Linked DNA regions of Homo sapiens: regions 2 and 3 are each linked to region 1. Evidence: promoter capture Hi-C in 16 types of primary human blood cells and fetal thymus (Javierre and others, 2016). All regions are on one chromosome and are shown on one strand. Each heading gives the region's core, a stretch centred on a gene start or on the middle of the fragment in contact. The rest is flanking DNA. Distances are from core to core; before and after follow the strand shown. Region 1 holds the start of CYP2R1 (cytochrome P450 family 2 subfamily R member 1). Region 2 holds the start of BMAL1 (basic helix-loop-helix ARNT like 1). Region 3 overlaps FAR1 (fatty acyl-CoA reductase 1).

Region 1 (2,596 bases), core at 56-2,555:
CCCACTAACACCTCTCTGTCAGCCCTGGAAGACTCATTTTGGACTTCTCACCTCAAGAATTGTAAGAAAATAAATTTGTGTGGTTTTAAGCCATCAGATTGGTGGTAATTTATTACAACAGTAGTAGGAAACAAATACACTTCTTTAGCAGTTGATCTCAGCTCCAATGTCATCTTCCTAATAAGACTTTCCTTGACAGCCCTTGCCTGCTAAAGTATCTCCCCAACCACCAGGCGTTTTCTATAACGCACTTTTTGTTTGCTTCTGATTATTGAAAATTATTGTATTTCCATGTCATTGCTCTTCCCTCTCATAAGAATGTAAGTTATAGAAAGGACTTTGTTGCTCTTATTCACCTATGTATCTCCATTGCTTAGGACATGGGAACATAGTAGACATTCAATAAATATTTGTTGTGTGAATGAGTCGTAAGCTAATGAGGACCATAAAACTCATGCCACTGCTAAATCACAATTAGAGGGCAGCTGTTAGAAGAGTCCCAAACCCAGTAAGTCCTGTATTGCAAGGAACTGCCCAATAGAAAACAGGAATAAAAACAATTAGCAAGAATAATATGAAATCAGTTGCTTAATTCCAGGCAGTGGAGGCAGAAATCTTGAATAGTAAATACTCTCCGTGAACAAGTGCAGACAAGAGTCCCGTGATTGCCAATAAGTAATCAGTTTGGAAAGACCAGAGAGGGGTCAAATATAGGTAAACTGAGTTAATCACATAAACTGCTCAATCATCACAATTATTAAAAGATCACACACAAAAATACATTAACAGGAGAAAAATAGTAAAACAGGACAAAACAGTAAAATTACTTTCTTTTACTACTGATGGGTCAATTTTCTACTGGAAATTCTGAAAAGTATCAGGTTCAGCTAAAGACTGCAGTGTTGATCATCTCTCCAGTTTTCCTAGTGTGAAATGAAATAAGCAGACCTGGTACTTAAAAAGACACTTTAAGAAAGGTCTGGCCCCAGAGAGGCAGGATCCGCCTAGCCCAGTGAGTGAGGCCGTCCTGACACCTCGTCAATGCCCTTGTGTCAACATTCTAGAAAACGGACTCCTGGCTCATTGCTCCGCCTAGAGCCGCGCCACCTCCAAAGGGTAGCACCGGCCACCCGCTCCGCAAAGTCCACTCTCAGCCGCGCAAAACTAGAAGGTAGTTGTCCCGAAGGGGCCTGAGCGCTCACTCAGTCAGCCAATGGCCACGGAGCTAGGGCGGGACCTGAGGGTATCCTGCCAATGGGAGTATGGCAGGGCTGGAGGGAGTGCCTGGGTCTCAGGGCTGCTGTGGAGTTCGCACCTCCAGCTCGGGCCGATGTGGAAGCTTTGGAGAGCTGAAGAGGGCGCGGCGGCGCTCGGCGGCGCGCTCTTCCTGCTGCTCTTCGCGCTAGGGGTCCGCCAGCTGCTGAAGCAGAGGCGGCCGATGGGCTTCCCCCCGGGGCCGCCGGGGCTGCCATTTATCGGCAACATCTATTCCCTGGCAGCCTCATCCGAGCTTCCCCATGTCTACATGAGAAAGCAGAGCCAGGTGTACGGAGAGGTACAGCCCCGACGGGCCCCGGGCAGGGAGGGCCGCCAGGCTGGCCCGGGCTGGCCAGGGCCTTCCTGGTTGGACTTATGGCCGCCCCTGGGCCGACTAGTCGGGACCTCTCCGTGTGCCGGCTGCCCTTTGAGGGACACCCGCTTCCCGGGTCTGGAAGGGAGAAGTCCTCGACGCCGTGCCCCCTTGCAGGGGGAGCCCCGCCCCTGCCGGTGACCCACTCCGGGCCGAGGCTCCGAGGCGATCCAGTCCTGATTTTCCCGCTACCGCTCGAGCTCTTGCTCCTGCGCCTGCGCCGTTTGGCTCGCCAGCCGCGCCGCCACTTCAGGTCCAGGGTGGACGCATGCCCTCAGGTGCGGGCGTCTTGCGAGTCGGCCTCGCAGCTCTGTGGAAGCTGCACGCGGCTTGTCGGAAAATCAAGGCGTTCTGAGTTCTAGATGGTTAATAGCAGGTTCTTCGGTGTCTGCAGTCGACGAACGACTGGTGTAGGCGTTTGCTGTGAGAATGGAGAATGCAGGGGAACGCCCCTGACTGAGAAGCGGGCCCTGGGAAACGATTGTGAACGCGTGAATGAATTGATGACTAAAATCCGCTGCGGGGGTCCTACAGCGCAGATGGTAATGCCGTTCTGACTGGCTGGGAACGGCACCTTAGCAGATACTTAAAAGGCGCCTTCTGTGTGCCACTGTCACTGCCAACTTGGTGACTCATTTAAAACTCATAACCAGCCGGTGAGGTCGGTACTTCGCTCCTCCTCATTCTGCGGAGGGGAAAGCAGCACGGAAATGCCCTGTGACTGGCAGCGGAAAAGGCGACCACCGCTTGTGTGTGGGTGTCCCGACGTCCGGAGGGGGCAGGAGTTTCCACGGGTCCTGGGACAGAGCTCACCTGTTTTGTTTTGAATTACACTTATTTATATGCAACTACAGGCCTGACGCTAGCGGTGAAGAAGGCAGATACAGCCTTTTAAGGAGTTGGCAGATGAGTGGGAGAGAGAAAACTAATCTCATTATCGGCCACAGGCTGTGGTCAGTGTTTTGA
Region 2 (2,596 bases), core at 97-2,596, 1.6 Mb after region 1:
AACAACGCTAGGTGACCGGGAAGGGGCCGAGGCGGAGAGGGGAGAGGGGTCAGGAGGTGCGGGGTGCGCGGCGGCAGCGGGTCTCTCACCGGCCGGCGAGAACTTGACAGCAGGCGCCGGTGTCCAGCACTCCCCTTCCCTCCCCAGCTCCTGCCGGCGGGCACCTGAGCTCACCCCGCTGCCGGCTCTCGCGACCCCTCGGGGAGGCTAACATGCGCCCCACAAGGTCGACGTTCACCTCTACCTTCCTCGTCTTCTTCCAAGCAAACGGGAAGCTCTCTGGGATGTCAACGCCCGGCAATAGCCGAGCGGGAACCTTTTCTTCCCTGACATCTGTCAAACCCGGAGCTGGAGCCAGGCTCGCTGCGCCCTCCGCGGAGCTCTGGGACTCCAAGGCCGGCCCGCACCCGGGCTCCGGGCGACATCCCCAGGCCGACGCGCACCTGCCCGCAGACCCACGGGGCATCCTTGAGGGCCGCCCAGGACCTGGACGGCACAGGCCCCACGAAAGTTCGCAGGCTGGGGTCGGCCCCGTGCCGGCCGGGGATTCCCGGGTGCAGCGCCAGCCCTGGCTACAGGGCCGAAGGGGCGGGCGGACTTGGACTCCCCAAGCCCGACGGAGACGCCCTCCCCGCCCCCACCCAGCCTCGCGGGCTCCCGAAAGGGAAGTGAAGCGGGGAGGAAGGGCAGACGCGGCACCGTTCGCCCAACGCCCTTGAGGGGCAGCCACCAGGCATGGTCCCCTCGGGGATCCCCGAAGCTCCCGGGGACACATCTAGGAGTCCTCTTCGGCCGAGTCACTGCCCCCAAGGGCAGAGCTATCCCTTTAAGAGGCAGCTAGCTGCCCCCTCCCCCCGCCAGGTAGCGATGCCCGCGGAAGGGCGGTGGGTACTCCAGCGAACACTTTCCCGGCCCCTTTAAGGGCTCCTGCAGCACCTCTGCCTGCCCTAGCCCGCAGCGGCAGCCCCCGCGAGGAGGATGGGGGCGGACGGGCGCGGCGCCTTTAAGGGGCGCAGCCTCCCCACGGCCCGGGTGGGGGCAGGGAGCGGTCACGGGCCCTTTAAGGCCGGCAGCGGGCACGTCGGGCAGGGTTCTTCGGCGGCCGGGTTGCCCCCGGGGCGGCGGCAGGGGCGCAGCGCCCGCGAGGGTGCTAACGGCCCCCGACGGGGTGCGCGGGATCGCGTCGCTGGCCGCCGCCGGCCTGACACTCACCGTGGCTCGCCGGGAGCGCCCGCGCCCGCGCCCGCACTCGGATCCCGCGGCGGCGGCGGCGGTGAGTCCGGCGCGGGTAAACAGGCACCTCCGTCCCTGACCTACTTTCTGCCTTCCCTAAATGTCGCACCACTAACCTACTTTCCGACCAATCCGCTCCCCGCCGGCCCAGGCCCGGCCCCCCGCCCACCAATCGCTGTGCCCAACCCCCCTTCCCCGCCCACCAATGGAGGAGCCGCAGCGCCCGGATACCTGCCTCTTCCCGCCAGCCAATCCGAACGCCCGAAGGGAGCCGGTCCCGGCGGCCGCCCCCAGCCAATCCGCGCGCGGCTCGGCAGCCCGCTGGCCAGTTGTGTGGCGGCTAGAGAGGCCGCTGACCAATGGCGAGGCGGCGGGAGCCGGTTTACCTGCTACTTTCCTGCCACCAATCATTTGGCGCACAGGAGCGCACGCCCCGAGGAGAGGACCAATCCGCGCGCGCTCCCTGGGTTCCTCGCCCCTGCCCTCTCCCTTTCCCCTCAGGTCTCCCACTAGCCGCGGCCACTGCGGTGCCCAAGCCGCGCTCCTCGGGGTCGCCCGGGATGTCCCTCTTCTCTGGGTCCCCTGCCGGCTGGCGTTTGGCCGCCCGCCCTCACCCCTCCTCCTTCTTCTTCTCCCCTCCGGGCATTCCGACGAAAAGCAGCAGTTCCTGACTCCCTCTCTCCCTCCGGCTCCATCTAGGAAACCAATTTTAGGAACGTTGAGTGCCAGACCCTTCCTAAAATCCCTGGTTTGCCAAAGTCTCAACGAGAGAACGGATACTTAGTATTTCTAGAAGGCATTTCCACCCCGAGGACTGCAAGTGTTCTCACGTTCTTTGCGTTCATCATGACCTCCAAGTGTCCCACTGGAGCTGTCATTCCCGTAGTTCCAAAGAGAATACTCGAGCGCGGAGCGATTCCATTGCATTTCCTTCCAGTAGCCAGGTTTTGACCACTTACTGAAGAGTAGACACCAGCCCCGCGGCAGCGCTCTCTGCTGCAAAAAGCTGTCTACGGAGCAAGACGGAAGGAAACAGTTACAGAAAATAAAAATTTGATAACGACATGCGACTCGGTTGCTGAGAGGACAGAGAAAGTGACTTATTTTTGCATCTCAGGCACTTTGTAGAGGGCCTTTAGCACAAAGAACTCCCGGCTCTTCCAGATGTTAAACTCCCTGAATAGAAGGACAGCGTCTTCTTTTTCGTTATCCATCATGTCAGCTCTCCTTTAGCGCCTGCTGGGGTAGGGTGGAGTGGTGGGGGCGGGGCTGGCACCCAACAAGTGCACCATAAATATCTGTTGGCTGGATACATGAACAAATGGAATTAAATAAATTGGCCTAATTCTGTTACCCAGACTGG
Region 3 (2,596 bases), core at 61-2,560, 1.2 Mb after region 1:
AATTAAACTAAAAGCTAGATGAATTTACGCAACTCTTTCCTCTCTGTTTAGGAGACTGTAATAAGTCTGTACTGATCCTAGGGCAAATCCTATTGGTTTGGGAATCATTCTTTGAATAAGAAAAGCTTATTTTCTTGACTTCTGTCTCCACTCTTCAAATTGGGAACCGAAAACAATGGTGAATTTATAAGTGTTTAAGTTGATCAGCTATATCTAAATCCAGCACTTCCATTTTGTCTTACTGAACTGAAACTCTAAGCCTGTTGCAAACCCATTAATGAGAGGAACTATAGAACCAATGTGTAGGAAGAAGGATATAAAGCCAAAAGAAGCAGTTAAAATGACACAATTCTATCAGTGGTTTGTTGGGTTTTTTTAAACCTTAAATTCATGTATTAAACTCTAAGAAAACAAGTGTTCAGGAAAACAAAGACTGTATCTCCACCATTCAGGGTGGGTTAGTAACTTGATCCTTCAGGTTAAGCAAATACCACCTTTCAGTACATACAGTTTCAGTTTCCATCAGTGACAATCCAGTCATTTCCAAGATAGGAACACACCTACCAAGGTGGCTCTTACCAAGTAGGGACTGAAATAAGACTATCTTCTCTCCTACCCCAAGTTCAGACTAGCCTACCCACATTTTCCTGAGTATTAGCTCATTTCAGTTGAATGCTTGTCCCCACTAATTATAAAAATAATGCTCACTTTTTTTTTTTTTTTTGAGACAGGGTCTCACTTTGTCACTTAGGCTGGAGTACAGCGGCATGATCAAGGTTCACTGCAGCCTCAACCTCCCAGGCTCCCATCTCAGCCCCCCAAGTAGCTGGGATTACAGGTGTGCACACCACCTTGCCCAACTAATTTTTTTTTTTTTTTTGGATAGAAAAGGGGTTTTGCCATGTTGCCCAGGCTGCTCTTGAACTCTTGAGCTCAGGCGGTCTGCCTGCTCATTTTTTTAAATTTGAAAAAACTAAAAAGTGCAAGCATTTTAAAGCATCCATGATCTTCCAGCCAAAGATTAAAACATTACAAGGGGTCATACCATCATCTTTCCTATGAATCTGACCATAACTGTGAAAATATTTAAATTTGTATAGAGTACCTGCCACTAAACACAATTAACTACCAGCCCAAACATTAATATCTTCATTCCAGCTTTCTTGTGACTAAATTCACATTACTTTTTTACTTACTTAACTCAATGGTTTCTTCTCAATCGTTCTGAGTCTCTCAGCTATATACTTTGTTGCTAACCACCACCTCTTTAAAACTCTATCCCAGGTTTCTCTAAACAGTGTATTCCTCAGTATCTACAGAAATCTCTCCAACTAATCTTTTTCTTTCTTCACTGGCTCTTCTTACATAAACTGACAATCTCTAGAAAATAGATGAGGTCTGACTTGAATTTTCTTGTCAATATTGAACACCCAGCACTTACTACAGTGCCTGGCATCAAGCAGATGCTCAATTAACATTTACTGACTGATTCTGCCAATCCTGACCTGTCCCCTCCTAGCTGTGTGACCTTGGGCAAGTTATATCTCTCTGAGTCTTATCTCCCTCATCTATAAAATACAGATAATCAGAAGATGAGATAATATTTGGAAGGTTCAAAACAGTGTCTGCCACAAAGTAGCACCCAATAAATTTTGCTATTATTATCAATATACTCTAGCACAGGACTCAAAAATGTTTCCAACTTATGATATATGGTTGACTGTTAAACCTACCTCTCAATAACCTTACTTTCACTTCATTCTCCTATAACTATCAAATATTTTATGCTCTTTCCTTTACTACCTATCTCCAATCCATTATCAACTGTTAATTTTCTCTCCTAACCAACATAAAAAATTATTTATCAGCTAAGCTGCAACATAGCCTTGGTTGATTTCCAAACCCCTAAATCTTCATTCGAATCTTCAATCATCCTTAAAAACCATTTTTAATTTGTCACTCTTGTCCACAGTTGCTTATACCAAGTACAAACTACTGGAATGTCATCCTCATGTCTTGTAATAACCCACATCCCAACTTCTAGTTCACATGATGGCTCAAAACTCACCTCTTTCAGGAAACCTTCCCTGATTCACTCCACGCCACTCAGATTACTTCTCTACTGCAAGTCGCCTCAGCACTTAGGTATTGTTATACTAAGGGCAAATGTGATCACAGTAAACAGCATCACTAAGAAATCGCTTTCACAAAATTGTTTCTAGATCATAAATAATGGTCCATTAGTTAAAATGCTTTGCTGATCTGGTTAACAAGCAAACATGTTACACAGCAAATGCTCTCTTTGGCTTCTGTCCTTGACTCTATAACTCTTCACAAACCTTTTGTCCTATCCTCAAACAGAAACTCTATCTCCCATTTAAATACACTGGAAATATGGTAGTGGGCCACCTTCTTTTCTACTACCTCTTCTCTGACCTCAGTCTCTGCCTCCAGCCTCTATCCACACCCCATAAATAAAAATTCCAAAAGCTTCAAATAGAATAGCAGTGATGCATACATACCATGTCTTTCCTGAGTGAAAAAAAAAAAAAAACCCTCAAGCTACTTAGCTACAAAATTCTTCACAAGGGTAATA

Evidence for each region. The method cuts DNA at HindIII sites, captures the fragments that hold promoters and counts their contacts. A CHiCAGO score of 5 or more calls a contact.
Region 2: a contact is called between the fragment with the promoter of BMAL1 here and the fragment with the promoter of CYP2R1 in region 1, in 1 of 17 cell types (monocytes). The highest score is 6.7, in monocytes.
Region 3: a contact is called between a fragment that was not itself captured here and the fragment with the promoter of CYP2R1 in region 1, in 1 of 17 cell types (M0 macrophages). The highest score is 5.2, in M0 macrophages.

Annotation. Positions count from the first base shown.
Region 1 is chr11:14,890,940-14,893,535 of GRCh38, reverse strand. CYP2R1 (cytochrome P450 family 2 subfamily R member 1) reads left to right here and starts at 1,305. Exons shown (of 5, transcript NM_024514.5): 1 at 1,305-1,555. The coding sequence starts at 1,331. It also overlaps a transcript of PDE3B not described here. RefSeq lists a silencer at 1,558-1,797. The HindIII fragment of the contact is 6,013 bases long and covers 1-1,341 here.
Region 2 is chr11:13,276,540-13,279,135 of GRCh38, reverse strand. BMAL1 (basic helix-loop-helix ARNT like 1) reads right to left here and starts at 1,346. Exons shown (of 20, transcript NM_001297719.2): 1 at 1,213-1,346. RefSeq lists silencers at 336-675, 956-1,025, 1,096-1,745. The HindIII fragment of the contact is 3,232 bases long and covers 1-2,596 here.
Region 3 is chr11:13,670,673-13,673,268 of GRCh38, reverse strand. All of the region lies in intron 1 of FAR1 (fatty acyl-CoA reductase 1), which reads right to left. Among named protein-coding and RNA genes, the nearest start is that of FAR1, 3.3 kb to the right of the region's middle. The HindIII fragment of the contact is 2,365 bases long and covers 128-2,492 here.